5 separate regions of the Homo sapiens genome follow, and regions 2, 3, 4 and 5 are each linked to region 1. Evidence: promoter capture Hi-C in 16 types of primary human blood cells and fetal thymus (Javierre and others, 2016). All regions are on one chromosome and are shown on one strand. The core of a region is centred on a gene start or on the middle of the fragment in contact, and the rest is flanking DNA. Distances in the headings are between cores, read along the strand shown.

What was found. Contacts are between HindIII fragments. The CHiCAGO score rates a contact against its expected background, and 5 or more counts as called.
Region 2: a fragment that was not itself captured here is called in contact with the fragment with the promoter of PTHLH in region 1 in 2 of 17 cell types (M2 macrophages and M0 macrophages); the score reaches 5.7 in M2 macrophages.
Region 3: a fragment that was not itself captured here is called in contact with the fragment with the promoter of PTHLH in region 1 in 1 of 17 cell types (M0 macrophages); the score reaches 5.6 in M0 macrophages.
Region 4: a fragment that was not itself captured here is called in contact with the fragment with the promoter of PTHLH in region 1 in 1 of 17 cell types (M2 macrophages); the score reaches 6.6 in M2 macrophages.
Region 5: a contact is called between a fragment that was not itself captured here and the fragment with the promoter of PTHLH in region 1, in 1 of 17 cell types (M0 macrophages). The highest score is 5.6, in M0 macrophages.

Annotation. Positions count from the first base shown.
Region 1 is chr12:27,971,206-27,974,553 of GRCh38, reverse strand. It overlaps PTHLH (parathyroid hormone like hormone), which reads left to right and starts at 1,821. Exons shown (of 6, transcript NM_198965.2): 1 at 1,821-2,031; 2 at 2,535-2,627. The HindIII fragment of the contact is 3,977 bases long and covers 1-1,901 here.
Region 2 is chr12:28,728,226-28,731,573 of GRCh38, reverse strand. All of the region lies in intron 2 of LOC105369711 (a long non-coding RNA gene), which reads left to right. Among named protein-coding and RNA genes, the nearest start is that of FAR2, 420 kb to the left of the region's middle. The HindIII fragment of the contact is 201 bases long and covers 1,688-1,888 here.
Region 3 is chr12:28,692,162-28,695,509 of GRCh38, reverse strand. No RefSeq gene overlaps it. Among named protein-coding and RNA genes, the nearest start is that of FAR2, 460 kb to the left of the region's middle. The HindIII fragment of the contact is 615 bases long and covers 1,441-2,055 here.
Region 4 is chr12:28,611,789-28,615,136 of GRCh38, reverse strand. No RefSeq gene overlaps it. Among named protein-coding and RNA genes, the nearest start is that of CCDC91, 420 kb to the right of the region's middle. The HindIII fragment of the contact is 1,320 bases long and covers 867-2,186 here.
Region 5 is chr12:28,591,683-28,595,030 of GRCh38, reverse strand. No RefSeq gene overlaps it. Among named protein-coding and RNA genes, the nearest start is that of CCDC91, 400 kb to the right of the region's middle. The HindIII fragment of the contact is 831 bases long and covers 1,264-2,094 here.

The DNA of each region.
Region 1 (3,348 bases), core at 572-3,071:
CCTGCCGGAGAGTTTAGACATCTCAGTCCGGGTGCTGCCCTGGGAAGGGACTTCGAGGCCAGCGTGGCACGGGCAGAGAATGGTGTTAGGGAGGTAAAATGCTTGCGGGGGCAGCCCCTTTTAGGCAGCCCCCGGCTCAAAATTTAAGAAAGGACCATTCGGTTCATGTGGGGAACTGGGCTGCTGCCAGGAGGGCCCTGTGATGCCACCGGAGATTGACTTCAGGTTGAGAGGTTGTCGCCTGAGCCAGGTGGGGCTTGGAACTCTCTCTGTGGCCTCGTACAAGTCCAGAGCTGCCTACTTTCAGGAGCCAAAAACTTGGCCAGCCAAGGGCAGGCATCTGGCTGGCTGGCACCAGTCCAGGAGATCAGGACTGGGACACTGCACATTCATATTCTCTCTCTCTCTCTCTCTCTCTCTCTCTCACACACACACACACACACACACACACACACACACAGAGACATATCTGAAGAAGACTCTTCAGATATGTTTCAATTGTCAGGAGTTTGCGAGGTGCTCAAGTGCTTGACCTTTAAGAACCGGTTCTCAGAGACCCCCATTTCCTAAAGACCTTCTCATCTCACATTGGTTTGGGTTCCTCCCAGGAAACCGCCTCCTCTCTGGGCCTCCTGCTTCAGTTTGGGGGAAGCAGAACATTGCCCAGGAAGTAGGGAAGGGTGAGGAAGGGTGTGAGGCCCACTTTTCCCATGGGAGGATCCCATCAGCTTGATGCATATCTATACACTCCTCCCTGAGGCAGTTCCTCCAGAGGTTAGCAGCCCGCCCTGTTCCTGGAGAAGTCTTATCCTCACCTAACTACAAAAAGATTTAATAAAGAAACACACCCTTTCCTATTGTTACTTGGGGTTTGAAGGCATTACATCTTTTTTTCTTTTTTGCTACCTTGAGGTCAGCTGGCAACAGCCTCCTCTCAAGTCTCAGTCCAGGCGAGCGATGAGAGCCACATTCTAATGGAATCCAATGAGAGCATTACTTGAGCTGATTATGCAACGTCTCTTTGTAAACATTGAAAAAAGTTTGGAGAAGAGATGGGATGAGTTTAGTTGTTTGGTTCCAGGGGATTTTAGAGACATAGCTTGCAGCTACAGATTGGTAAATGTGAAATCTGGATGCTTATTGGTAATAAGAGAATTCCCAAGCCCAGGTGCACTGTTTAAAGTGCTATAGATTCATATTTGGTTTATAATGTATATCTGTTTGCTGTTTGGGTTAAGGAGGAAAGAAGAAAGAAGGATGAAGAGGCTAAGCATAAATGCTATTTACTTTTTTCTAAGCTATGACAGGAGATATACATTAACTGGGTATTCAACTGAATTTAAGAGTAATGCATTTAAAATTTTTTCAACCTCTTTTAAAATTTGATATACTGTAATAAACTGCCACTGGGGATGGGAAGATGGAAGCCTGGTGCTCATGGGCTAGGCATTTGTGTAGGTGTAGATCTTATAATGCTAAACATGGAAATACTTCAGATTAGAGGCAGGCCTTCCCATTTGCTAAGGTGCATTTACATGACAGCAAGGCCTAAGCAAACATTTAGCTTCTATTGGCACTTGTTCTATTTCTAAACCTTAGAAAAAAGGTGTGTGTGTGGGCTGGGGGGACGGGGGGGGGAGGGAGGTGGTAGGGGGTGCTCTTGCTGTGTCTCATTTGCAGTCATGCATCCTCTGCATTATTATGATGGAGATTACTCAGTTATGTTAGGAACTAGATTATGATGTCAGAAAATATCCTTTCCAAAACAGGCAAAAAGTCAGGGTCCTGGGTATATATTGAGGAGAATTTCTACGGAAAGTAATAAACAGGGCAGCTTGGAAGAGGTACCTGCTTTCTAATAATTGCCTTTAGTGGGAACAGAAGTCTCCTTTCAAGAAGCTTTTAATTCATTTTAAGATTTAATTTTATGTTTTCTGAAGAACAACAAAAAATATTTCTGGAAAAGACTGCTGAGAAGATTTCCCTCTTTCAGCCAGAAGAGCAGAGAGAAGATTGTAAATCAAGGAAAAGGTGAAGTAATAAATTAGGAGGGAACTTTGGTATTCCGAGTATATAAAGACTATTTATTTTTCCTGTGTCTATATTTTCTCTTTTTGTGGAGGAGAGGAAATTCTAAAAATATTTGATAGATGTTTTGCCATTAACACCAGAAAAGTGTGTGGGGAAAAAGAAAGGAGGGAAGGAGTGGGGGGTTAATTTTGTTTAATTAGTAGAAAAAGCAACATAAATCAAAGCAGTCTATTGATGCCAGTCCTTAATTTATAATGTTCTGAAAGTAAAGTGAATTTATTTACAACATAAGTGATTTGATAATTTCAATCTGATTTTTGTTTTAACCTTCTATTGGGAGAAGGGTTGACTTTTTAAAGCCTGGATAGTTTGAAACTTGGCTAGGTACCTTGGACTTTTTATTGTGGAAGCAAATATTATCATTTCAATGTTAAACAACTTGCAAGTATTAAATGGCTCATTTGTGATTGACTTTTTTTTTTTTTTTTTTTTTTTTTTTACAGATTTCCCCCTTCAGATCTAACGATTACATTAGGGCTCCTGCATCTTTTTGGAAGGATTCTTTTTATAAATCAGAAAGTGTTCGAGGTTCAAAGGTTGACATTTCTGAGTGCTGATACTTTGTCCTTTCATACTATCCAAACAAGTCTAACATTTAGAAATCCTTACACATTCAAGGGAAGTTGTGGAAATTCCCAGAGAGAGAGTGTGTGTGTGTGCGTGTGTGTGTTTTGGTTTTGTTTTGCTTTTTTTCTTTGTTAGTGAGAAGAAGCCGAGTCTTTTAAGGTACGGGGTTTACAGTAATGAACTGAGGAAGGCAGGAGCTTCTAAGAAAATATGCCCCCCCACCCAACCTAAGCAGTAAACTTTAACTGCTAGCTAGCTGCAGTGAACCAGTGGGAGCCCCGATGAGCGAGGGTCTCGGTGACAGCGTGCTATTTCTCCCACCCTGGGTAAAATATGTGGAGCATCACCCGGAAAGTCGGGCTTGATAAAGGCCACATTCCTTGAATCATCTCAAGAATCTAAATCACACTAGCCTTCTAGAAACTAATGAACCCTACCAGCAGGATTGCCTAGAAGACAAATATCCCTTGAATGGTTCCCAGTCCACTCGCGCTCTTTTCAAAAAGTTAGAGGAGCCCTGGGGAGGGTATCCACTCCCGCTGCAATCCTTTCCTAGATGATACTACCCAGTAATTCCGAGCAGTCTTTCTTCCCCGCCCATTAGCTTTGGAAAGAACCTCGGCTTTCCCGTCGCTTCTCCCAGGCAGAGCAGCACATAACCATAGTTCCACTGCATCTGTCCGCTGGCTG
Region 2 (3,348 bases), core at 539-3,038, 760 kb before region 1:
TTACCACTTGCCATCTAGCATCTAGTCTTTCCTTCTTACTTTGGAAAATGTAACAAATGTTTATAGCATTGTAATTTATATACAAACTTTACTTTTTCACTTTCAAAGTTTTATACCTTATATAAACTTGTTTAAATTGTTCCATCAGTATTTTTTTTCTTTCTATCTATGAAAATTGTGCATTTGAGGTTAAGATAAAACAAATCAAAGTTTTTCCATTGAAACAAATGAAAATAATTTCTTATTTAACAGCTTTGAACTTAATAGCAATGTTTTGGAAATAAATTAATTCATGAACTTGTTTAAATTGTTCCATTAATATTTTTTTCTTTCTATCTTTGAAAATTGTACATTTGGGATTAAGAAAAAACAAATCAAATTTTTTCCATTAAAATAAATGGAAATAATTTCTTATTTAACAGTTTTGAACTTAACAGCAGTGTTTTGGGAAATAAATTAATTTGTAAAGTAAAGGCTAGGTGTACTAGTTTATCCCTCCCACTAGACTCGTAAATTCCATGTGTGACTCATAGTTAACACCAAACAAGATTTCTTGAATAAAATAAAATTTTAAAATATTAGTTACTATTAACAAACTTAGTTACTTAGCAAAAGCTATTAGCTTTGGAAATAAGTGGATTATAAGTCTAAAGGCAAAGGAACTGCATGTAAGCACTGTACTTTAGTTAGTAAAGTTGTTTCCCATGGGAGCATGGGTTGACTATTCTGAAACCACTATATGTATATACTGAAATTGGATAATTAAACATAGATGGTGGATAATTTCATTAACAATTTAACTAGTGCCAGCTCCCTTTTTACATCTGCAGAAGATGTGATTTAGGTGGTGTAACAATCTAAGACTGACAGGACATAGATTGCACACCCAAACAACATTGTTAAGCAGAGTTAATGAAGAGACTATCTATGGTGATGAGGCCAGGACTGAAAAAAAATAATAATAACAGAAGTAGAAACACCAAGAGGCTAGCAACAGCAAGGGTCTGTATCCCTGAAGAGAAAAGGGAATCTCAGATAAGGCTGTGGCTCTAGCAGAGGCTGTAGGAGAGGACCACTGATGGAAACAGTGCCTTCATTAGAGGAAGGCAACCAGTGCCAAGTCCTGGCCAGGAAGGAAGTTGGCTGCAAGGAAAATACTCCAGTCCCTCCCCCCACCACCCTCAAGCCTCCTGCCAGTGGCTCTCATTGGCCAAATGCAAATGAAAGAGAACAAGGAAAGATTCCAGTTGATGAATTCCATATAAATCAATCTCCTGGGCACAGAGAAAAGTGGAAAAGGGTGGAGTGCAGATCTAGCAGGACAAATAGAGAATAACAAGCACATGATTAATCTAATACAGAAAATTGGCTGAGCACACCAAAGACCAAGCCCATTTCTTTCATAAATTTTTCAACTGTTTAACTCTATTTATCTCTGTATCTGGATGAATCAAGTCTTTGGACAGAGGTGTTTTGGGGTTGACTGGTCATAGCTTAGAAGGCATAATACCTAAATAGCTAACTATATGACTGTGTGATATGGAATATTTAAAGAAGCTTCTATCCACCCCAACTGTCCACTGGCAAATTCTGAATACCAGTGTACTTTTAATCATGAGGTCTGAATAAAAAGACAAATACTTTTCATGACCTTGACAGATAGATTGAGATCTTTTTATAAAAAGCTTCAAAACCTATTTAAACTTTTTGTTTGCCATAAAGATCTAGCTAAACTTCCATTTCTCACTCCGTCCCCTTTGTTTTTGCCTAGATGGGGTGAGATGAAAGGAGTTAACTTCACTAAACTCATCTCTTTTGATAAAGACTGAAGACCTTGATCAGGTTTCTTTCTAATACTGTTAATCCAAATTGTCCCACAGCATAAGCTTGTTCTCAAAACAGTTGAAGCTGAATGTTGTTCAGCATTTAAACTGAATCACCACTTGTTTTTAACCAAAGTTATTTTTATTTCAGCCAATTGCCCTTTAAACACTAAACTCAAAGGAAAGTTTGAATTTCAAAAGTAAGAATTGCTCTGACTATAGTGTGCAAGACTTTTGGTCCTCCTCTTCCAGTTTGGCTAGCCTTTCATTTCTCTCTCCTAGCACTTCTGAGAACGAAGAAACTGTATATCTTCATTGTTTAAGATAATCCTCATGCCTCATCACTTGAAGTATATTGTTGCCTAACAAAGACCTACCTTCCCACATTTGTATTTACCTGCTTGTTTTACATCTTCTAACCAGCCAAATAGATGATGGTCACTGTACATTCATATAGATGGGTATACCACCATACTTCTAAGAAATGCTTTCTCCTGAAGGCAGAATTCTGCTGGTGCCTGTTCTAACAATCCAAAGAAATTAAAGGAATTTTCTATCCAAATGAGTACTGACTCTCCATGTTTATTGAATTTGACTGTTTACTCAAGATATGGGTGTCAAACCAGCCTATTTGTATGAAACACATTAGAGTAACTACCAGCCAGTATCAACCTGTTCAGAGATTTGAAGGGGAATAAAAGGAATCTACAAGTTTATATGAGCTTTTGTGGAAAATGTAAATGATTTGAGAATATTTTTAAGGCAGTGTGGTACAGTGAGAACACTGAACTCGATTCAGGTGATCTCAACTCCAGTCTCCATTATGCCACCAAAAGGCTGTGGAACCAGTGGTAACCCAATGAATGTCTAAAACCCTTAATTTTGTTATTTATAAAATGGGAACAATACATTTTTGACAAGATTATTATTACAATTAAATGAGATTGTATGTATAAAGGACATTTATACAGCATATATGAACATGCTATGTAATGTAAGGAGGGAAATTAAATCAAGCATGTCCCTATCTACTTCTCCTACTTAAAATCTATAGAAAGAACAGAGAAGATGCCTCTCAAATCCACAACTCCTCCAGGAAACAAGAAAAAGGTTCAATAATGGCCCAGAAATTTGGAGGAGTTCCCTGAAAGGTTAAAAGCTGGTAGGATCAGATTAATAAAATAAGCCACACTCCAGAGCTTACATATGAAAAAAAAAGTAAATGAAAAAGGGTAGGAGGAGTTCAGGGAATTCTACATATTTAGAATTAAAAATTTAAGGAGCAGAAGGATTCTCTATAAAAACCATCTGGGGTACTGGCTACCAAACAGCATTCATAGTGCATAGGCAGATAAAGCTTCTCCCCTAACTTGTGCTAAGCAAGCACTGAATAGGACAGTGTGGGTACTTGGAGCAGAGAAATCATAGACAGTTGGTCATACTCATATTGAATAGGGATTCTCCACTACTGAAATGGACACTTTGTTCTGACAATGATCTTCTCTTTGGCCACAATCACAGAAGC
Region 3 (3,348 bases), core at 499-2,998, 720 kb before region 1:
GTACCCTAAAACTTAAAGTATAATAATAAAAAAAAATTAAAAAGAGCAAAAAAAAAAAAATACATCTTTAACTTATCAAAATCTGCTTTCAAATATTATGCTCATTTACACATAGTATAAGAATCTGACAATACTACACTTTCCCTTCCCCCTCCTGGTCTTTATGCTATTGTTGTCATGCATTTTACCTCCATATGTGCTGTTAATTCTATGATAAATTGTTATTACTTTTACTTTAAATAGTCAATATTCTTTAAAGAAATTAAAAAGGGTAAAAAATGTTTTTACCCATATATTTACTGTTTCTGGCACTATTCTTTTCCATGTTTAGATCCAAATGTCTATATAATAATCTTACTTCCTAAAGAACGTCCTTTAACATTCTCCATAGCAATGAATTCTCTCAGCATTTGTTTGCTGAAAGTTGCATTTGGGTCTTTTTCTTGAAGACTTTGGGATGAGATTATCGTCTAAATGGTTGAACTTTGAGTAAAGCTGATTGTCCTCCACAAAGTGTTGAAGGCCGGAATAGAAGGCCAATCAGTTGAAGGCCTGAATAGAACAAAAAGCCTGGCCTGCCTAAGCAAGAGGAAATTCTCCAGCGAATTGCTTTTGGACTGCATCTTCACTATCAGCTGTGCCGGGTCTCCAGTCTGCAGGCTACAGATTTTGAACTTCCCAGCCTCCAGAATTGCACAAGCCAATTCCTTATAATAAATCTCTTTCTATATATGTATATACATTCTCTTGGTTCTGGTTCTCTGGAGAACCCTAACTAATAGACTATCTCAAACTTGTAGCCTATAAGCTGGTGCAATTGTAGGGATCATCTTGTGTAATTACCTATTGTCCAAGGTCTGAAAACTTTTTCTTTCATGTATATTGACCAGTTTTCTACTTGTTTAAGGTAGATCATTTAATTCAGTCCCTGTTACTCTATCTTTACTGGAAGTAGAAGTCCTCCTTGCATTTTTTTAACCCCATTCATCTCTCATTAGAATCTCAGGATGATACGAATTGGAGTTTGAGAAATTATTGAAACAAACACTTCACATTACAAATGAGACCTGAATCCCATTCTTTTCTGTGTGAACAAACATTTACTGGGCAGCTTTTAAGGACTTGGAATGTACATATTGCATGCTGGAAATTAATAGAGTGGTATCTCTAGTGCTTATGATTAAAAAGTTACTTTAATCTCTCACTCCTGCTTGTTTTTCTGAATTTTGTCTGAATTTGGAAGATAAAGAGTTACTTCTTATTAAATCCAAACAATTGGCAGAGAAGAATCAATGGATTTATATCTTCTCTGGAATTATAAATCATATATCAGAATTGTCTGTCAGTTTGCTCCCTCACTAGAGACACCACTCATTAGAGAATGAGCATCAGCTTTAAGCCTAATGGGTTTATGACACTTCATCGCTGAATATGCAAGCTTACTTACTATTCACAGATAGCACAGGACATCAGCAGTCCTCCCCAGAACATGCCACACCTGCAGAGAGGGTGTGACACATATGCAACCTCTCTACAGGCCACAAGACTCCCAGCTAAATACAGAAGAGATTAAGCCCTATACTTCCAATTCCTTCTACAAAACTCAGATCTGGAGAAGAATGAAAAACGGGCCAAAGAGAGGTCAAAAGAGTTACGCTCATGGAGATTTCTTCCACAGAGTAGTACGGGCAGTGGAGGATAAGTGTTCTCCCTAACACTGTTCATTTTACTGTCTGGCAAGTCCTTTCTCTTTGTTTTATGCATATTTATTAAAAGTCTCTGAACTCCAAACCTCTTGCCAATGTTTCTTAAGCCTGATGATTCCTACTATTGCTCCACAACGTGTATATGGGAGTTCCCATGTAGGAAGAAAAATAGCATCCTTGTATAACTAATTAAGAAAGATTAAAGGAAAGCAAAGAATTTAACTATCTTTACATAGAAAAGGTGGCCGGTGTTTTAGTGAGTATTTTCTCAAAATCTATACCCATGCCTGGCACATATTAAGCACTAAATAAATCTGTTAGATAAATGTTCAAATAATTAGCCTAAGCTTATAGACAAGAGTCTAAAACATTGATGGCAAAATTCCCAAAATGCAAAATAACTCAAGCAATAGGCATTCAAAAGTATTGATTTATATTACAGAGTCAAAACAAGGTGGAGAGTATGGATTCTAGACTCCAGGCTTGGATTTTGGCTCTACTTCTTTGACATCTTGTTATAACCCCCTGAGCCAAAGTCTTCTCATCCGTACATTAAGAAAAATAATATTGGCCAGGTGCAGTGGCTCACGCCTGCAATCCCAGCACTTTGAGAGGCCGAGGTGGGCGGATCACGAGGTCAGGAGATCGAGACCATCCTGGCTAACACAGTGAAACCCCATCTCTACGAAAAATACAAAAAAAAATTAGCCGCGCGTGGTGGTGGGCGCCTGTAGTCCCAACTACTCTGGAGGCTGAGGCAGGAAAATGGTGTGAACCCAGGAGGCGGAGCTTGCAGTGAGACGAGATGGAGCCACTGCACTCCAGCCTGGGCGACAGAGTGAGACTCCATCTCAAAAAAAAAAATAAAAATAAAAGAAGAAAGAAAAATAATATTATCTACCCCAAATGGTTCTTTGAGGGCAAATGAAATGATCCATTTAAAGTACTTAGCTCACACAGTGTCTAATACATATTGCTCAATAAACATTAGCTAATAGTAATAACATAGTGGTATTAACCAGTTGAGCAAGACCACAGAACTCTCCTTATTTCTGATCTGCAAAATAGAATAATTATAATTCCACTGCCTTGCCTCTCCAACATTTTGTTAAGAGGGTCAAAGAAAATGTTCATTGAAGAGCTGTATGGATACAAGACATCCCCATGAGTCATATTTTTTTCATACTCCCCTGCTCTTCATTTACTGATGGCCCTAATAAATATGTAGAAAGCTAGGGATATTTGAGGAGAGATAAGTGTGTTATAGGCTAAGAGGCTTTTCTGAGCCCATCTGCAAAGCTGCTGACAGTCTTTTTTATTGGTAAGAGTTGTGCCTCTTCACTAGGCTGTCATCATTTCTTTTCTCAAACTGGGTGTGGGTGGGGGCAGCCACAGCTGACAGGCAGCCTCTCTGGGTGGTCTCTGTGTTGCTGCTCAGACTGTTGCTGCTGTCATTTCTTAAGTAATCATCTCCTCAGCTTTTTTATGGCATTGACCTCCCTTGCATTCATTGACCTCTTTTGCAGATCATGCAGTCATTTAACTGTATCAGCTGCAAATATTGACAGCCAAACAATTTCAAAGGCAGCAAATCAATTTATGAAGTATAACGTCCCTGATTAAGTATATATATATATAATAT
Region 4 (3,348 bases), core at 277-2,776, 640 kb before region 1:
TCTTATTTTATGTTCTTGATAAAGATTTATAGTTTTCTTCATATAGGTCTTGTATGTATCTTGCTCTACTTTTTAACGGATTATTTTTGACATCTTGTTTCTCCAGGTTGCATGACAGAAATGAGGTCATTAGACTGAGGCAATTGCTATCGTTCAATTGCTTTGGTTTCACTCTGATATTTAATGTTTTAAAAAGGATACTTATTTCTTCCTCTCTACTCAAGCAAGGCATTGTCTTTCACTGTGACAGTTTGGAAGAACCCATTGCATTTGACCTGCAAATTTCCTTTCATCTGATTCAAATTTATGTTCTGTTGCATGAATGATGACAGGGTAGTTGATCCCAATTGGCTCAAATCTCATCAGCCAAATGGTTCTTGAATTCTTATGTCTTTTAAATAATGGCTCCCTCTGAAAATGTTAGTTATAAAATCACAGCACAATTCTTCTTACACAGCAGGATGTCACATTTATATTAAACCCTTGTGGGCAACAGTGTAGTACATATTGCACACGTGGGCCTGTGGGAGCAATTTAAGGCTTAATGTGTACAGAAAAATGGAAGACAAGATTCCTCTTAAGAGAAGTGGAGACTCTGAAATATTTTTCTAAACCCAACAAATGAATTGGAAATGGTGAACTGCCATCACAAGAGCCCATTCTTCATCATCCTTGTGATACGTAAAACTGTTAGGCTTTCACAAAACAGAAATTTCAAACCTACTTTGAACTTCATATTATGGCATAGCATGCTTTCAAATGTTTACAATAATTTTTATTGATAAAAGTTTTTTTCTTCCATGTTTTAAATGTGTATCTATTTCTGTGTTTTTGCAGTTCTATAAATCTAACTAGAATGTTAAGCTTTGATTGAACTGATCCAACATCTGTGACTTAAAGAAAGTATTTTAGAAGTTCTTATCTTTCTTTACTTTCCACCCATTTTTTATCTTTTTCTCATATTGTTTTCCTCTTTCTTCCTTCGATGATGCATCTGCAAGGCAAGGAACACCAAGGATTGCAGCCACCACCAGAAGCTGAGAGACAGTATGGAACAGATACTCCCCCAGAGCCTCCAGAACAATAGGATAATTAATTTCTGTTGTTTAAAGCCATGCATTTTGTTGCATTTTGTTATGGCATCTCTAAGAAACTAGTATACTCTGCTTAAGAGTATAAACATTGGTTCTTCTCTCTAGTGTGCAAATTTGGAATCCAAGTTCAGTTCTTCCCTACTCCTCTGCATCCTTGCCTCCCCAGAGATGCTCATCAGCATATTCCAGGACTAAACATTCTGGATATGTGTTATAATGTACTGCAGTGGGGAGAGGCATATACACTAATAGATAGAATACTCAGTTTTCCTTAAATCTAACTTGATACATATATTGGCTTTTATAATCTGAACCTGCTTTATCTTCCAAGCCAGAAACTACCTCTGGAAAAGAATTCAGTCCTTTATATTGCCTCCAAGCCACATTTTCAGCTCCAGGATGAAGTGCCCTGTCAATACCTCTGCCCCCATTAACTGGATCATGTAGATCCTGTGCTTAGAACCCTGTTACAAGTCTCTCTCTCCTTAGGTACCACAGCATAGACAGAAATCCATTAGGCAGGACTTACACCTCAGAGCATTTCACATAAATCCTTTCCTTTGCCACACTCAGCACTGCTTACTCAAATATTTCCCCTCTCCCACCTGCTGGCCTCCTGACTTAACATCTGCCTCCATGTATGATCTCTATTCAAGCCTATACATACGTGTGTGTGTGAGAGAGATATATATATCAAATATATATGTCACATGTGATATATATCACACACTCAAATATACATAACACAAACAAGTATATATACACATATATATGCTTGTATTTATGTGTATATACACGTATATGTATACATATATACACATATATATGTATATATATAATTTGCTTTAGTTTAACCCTGCACTACACATGCCATTGCTCATCCTCTGAGCCTTTTTACTGGCCTCACAATCCTATGATCAAAAGTATCTCTCTCCTGGCTCGCTATAAGATTTATACCTTCAAATGTCTTATTATATTCAACACACATAAGATTTGAGGGGAGAGGAGGGAGTGCTGCTATTCCACTTGGGCACACATTGTGTTAGGGAGGACTTTCATCACTGGAGCATTTGAATGTTTTATGTACAAGCTTCTTCTAGAACAATTATTTTATGATTTATATAATCCCATGGGTCACTGTTTGATCTAAGACACAAATGCAGCATTTTTGGTGAAGTCAGTGGAAATCTACATTTGTCCTCTGATGGAAGGAGTTAAATTCAGATAGGGTGAGATAATTTCACCAGATGCCATATATTTCTTATGTAAAAACTAAAATTTTAGAAATAATAAAATTAGCAAAAAAGAAAAATTCTTGCATTATCTGACATTCTTCACTAGGAGCCATCCAAGGATAAGCAATAGGCTTTCTGTCCGTAGACTATTTGACATAAATAGGGACATGTTGAGCATTTTGGAATTATTTAGAGGTTGTTTTATAGAGGTATTCCTATCTCTAGGAACTCAGACTCTCAGACTTTTCATTTTCTTTGCTTTGAATTGTAGAGAATACTTCATGGGACAAAGCAGGAAAACCACCAACAAGAAAAAATGATCCTGGGTGGAATTCCAGAATTGATCTTCAGACATAATGTCCCCATCCCCAGTACAATGTGCATTATTTCATCTACACAGGGTAACTGACACGAGTGGACCTCCAGGTCTGGAGTGTAGGACATGGCTCACAAAGAAGCCCAGAGGAGAGAAACAACAGAGTCTGTGCCACCTGCCTTAGGCTTCCATAGGGAATGATGAGGATGACAAAAGATTGTGCCAAGGTTGGGTCTAAATGACTCATTATGCTTGTTTGATCTGCCTCTCACCTTTCCCAAACCTGCTGACTGCCCTGAGGAACTATCTGTGTGATCAATTTCACAGTGGAAAGAGTGAGGGAAGCATTTCTTCCTGATAGACCTATTCTACTGCACCCCCCAACTCCAATCTCAACTGTGAAGTTTCGTGGGGGCACTGCTTTCAGTGTAATTTTTTAACCTGTTGGGTGAAGTAGCCTGCAGAGATAGCATGTCAAAGTCAACATGAGCTCCAATTCCTCACCTTACCTAAGCTAAAGGTGGAAAATGCTGGACTTTCAGCTTCTAGGTAAAATGCAGCCAATTTAAAATTAACTCAAATATGAACAGGGTTATTGTTAAGAATATAGGAATGTAACTGCAATTTTATTTTATAAATATATAATAAAGTTATTATATAAATTTAAGTAAGCATTGCCCTCAGGAAGAGATCCAAACTCATT
Region 5 (3,348 bases), core at 430-2,929, 620 kb before region 1:
TCCCCATCCCTTGATCTTTTCCTCCCTCTCCTCTTTTTTCCTTCTGAAAATTTAAAAAACACAGAGAAGTACAAGGAATTAAATGACAGACATTCTTACTCCCACTATTGACAATTAAATACTCTTAATATTTTGCTTTATTTGCTCTCAGGTTTTTTTCCCCATGAATATATGTTAAAGGAAATCACAGAAGTATATGAATACATCATTTTCTTAAAATAAAATAAAAAAATAAAAAAGTTACTGATGAAATAGAAATTTTCTTTAGCCTGTGTCTCCTTTTCAAGATTCCCCATTTCTGCAATGTAATCACTACTATAAATTAGTGTATAGCCTTCACATCTTTAAAAAATTACTTGTAAATATTTGTGTACATATCCACAGAATAACCATGTTATTGCTTTGTGCATATTTTTAAATTATATGTAAATCATATGTTGTTCATTTGTTATGCAACTTGCTTAATTCATGAACTATTATATTTTTGAGATCTATTCTTATTGCTACACGTAGTAATAATTCATTATGCTTAAATCCTGTATAACAGCCAAATTTTAAATTCAATGGATATAATATTGCTAACATTAGTTTTTTGGTAGACAGTGAGTATGTCTGCTATATCCTTATCCATCCTTTTAGCATCATTTCATCTTAAGTGGGTCTCATAAAGAGCATAGAGCTAGATTTGTTTAAAATCTGGGGTTTCCCACTTTAAAAGAAAAGTTTATCCCTTTTGCATTTATTATGATTCATAATAAATTTTAACCTATTTCTTTCATCTTTTTTTGTTGTTTTTTTTACCATACTTTTTCCTTGTTTCTTCTACTTGTATCTTCCTCTTTCTGTCTTCCAATGGAATAGGGTGTTTTCTTGGATCTATTTTTTCTATTTGCTGGATTTCAATTTAAAGTTTTATTTCTTATTTTTTAACTATTACACAAATATTTAACATGAACTATAGTTTTCATTTTCTTAGCAAAGTCTCAAAATGGGAAGTTTATGGGTAAAGAAAATTTATATTTTACTAGTAAATGCCATCTGTGTTGTATTTGAGGTTTTTTTCTTCTCTGAAAAAATTTAAGCTTAAGAAGAAAAGTTTGAAATTACAGGAAATAATTTGCCAATTGATGTCATTTGTGGGGCCTTTGAAAGACCAAGAGAGTGTAAGTGGGACCTGTTTCCCTTCTTCCCATTCAATGACTGTTGTTGGCTCACTGGGGAAAATAGTTTCCAAATTTTGCTGACCTGATGTGAGGTAAAGCTTATGAATAAGCACTTTTTGTATAAAGCTGTGCTGTCCAATATGTTAGCTGTTAGCCACATGTGGGATATTGAGTACTTGAAATATGGCTAGTGAAACTGAGAAATGCTTTGTACTGTTTTAATTTTTAAAAAGTTGAAGCAATGTAAATTATTTTTATTAAACACAAATTTGTTTTGGCAGAACTATACTTTTACTTCACACATACATTTATGTTATTGTTGTCACAATTTACACAAATTTTTAAACAATTTTTATATTGTGTATTAATAATTACAGTAATTTCAATACTTTTGTCTTTTACACTAGAATTAAAAGTGGTTTACATATCACCAATATAATACTATTCTATATTTGTTTATATACGTATCTTGTCCAGTAACTTTTATAATTTCATATGCTCTGATGTGGCTGTTTAGTGTCCTTTCATTTTAATTTGAAGAACTCCCTTTAACATTTCTTGTAAGGCAAATCTAGTGGTAATAAACTCCCTCAGCATTTGTCTAAGAAAGTCTTTATTTCTCCCTCCTTCTGAAGGATAGCTGTGCTGGGTGTAGTATTCTTGGTTGGTAACATTTTTATTCCCCCAACACTTTGAAAATATAATTCCATCTCCTTCCCACTGCAAAGTTTCTGCTGAGAAATCCACTGATAGTCTTACAGGGCTACTTTATACACAATGAGCTGCTTGTTTCTTGCTGCTTTCAAAATTCTCTCATTGTCTTTGACTTTTGACAATTTAATCATGTGTCTTGGTCTATGATTTTTGATAATTTAATTATGTTTCTTGGCATAGACTTCTTTGGATTCCTCGTATTTGTGTCTGTTAAGCTTCATGAATCTCGGATGACCATTTCCACCATTATTTCTTTAAATAAGCATTCTGCTCCTTTTTCTCTTCCCTTTCTTGAACTTCCATAATGTGTTTGGTTCTTATTCTTTTCTTTTCTTTTTTTGGTCTTCTGGATAATTTTAAATGACTTGTCTTTGATTCTTTGATTTCACTGTTTCTCTCTTCTGTTTAGTCAAATATGCTGTTGAAGACCTCTGGTGAATTTTTCAGTTCAGTGATTCTATTCTTTTGCTTCAGAATTTTTGTTTGGTTCTTTGTTATAGTTTCTCATTGTTGATATTCTAGTTTTGTTCATGTATTATTTTCCTGATTTCAGGCAGTTGTCTGTCTGTATTATAAACTAAGTCACTGAGCTTCTTTAAGACAATTACTTTGAATTTTGTTTCTTTGAGTGGGTCATGTTTCCCCAATTCTTCATGTTCCTGTGGCTTTCTGTTAGTATCTGCGCATTTGAAGAAACTGCCACCTCTCCCTTTTTTTATGGACTGGCCTCTACAGGGAAAGAATTTCATCAATTATCGTGGCTAAAGATTCTGGGAGCCTTTCAGATCTTTTCTATGATATGTCTTCTCTGGATTTGCATGTGTAGATACCTAACTGGGGGAGGGAGAGAGTTACTATGTATTTCATTTTTTTCAAAAGCCAATAATGTCTTGCACCCTCTGTTGTCTGACTGTTGTACCATGAGCCAGGTCATTGGAGGCATACTCTATTCCTCTTCCTCCCTCCCTGAGGATAAATTTTATTTGTGTGCCTTCACCAAATCTTGCTGAAATATGCAGGCTGTGGTAAGCTGCCTGTCCCTTGCCTTTGTTCTTAGCTGTCCCCAGGTATTCAAAGTCTGCCAGTCCCATCAGCATTCCAGGTGAGGTAAAACAGAAACTGGTCCCTCAAGCAGCAGTACAAAAGGCTAGGAACAATGGATTATGTTTCATTCTGATTCTTTCCTCAGGGAGAAGTCATGGACCAAAGAAATCTCTGTCTCAGCACTAAGCTGTGCAGCCTTGGGAGATGGGCTAACACGAGTAAAGTTAATTTGCTCTTCTTATTCATTTTAATGTGGTTTATTCCCAGTTTTATGCTCATCTGGGGTACTGCAATTGCTTAAGTGAATTCTAGACCTCTCACACATGCATTTTGGTTTGTATACTGTTGCCAAATTGGTGTTTTTGGTGGAGGAACCAAGGGCTCAGACTTTCTATTCCACTGTTTTGTTAATAGCACTTCCTTTGGT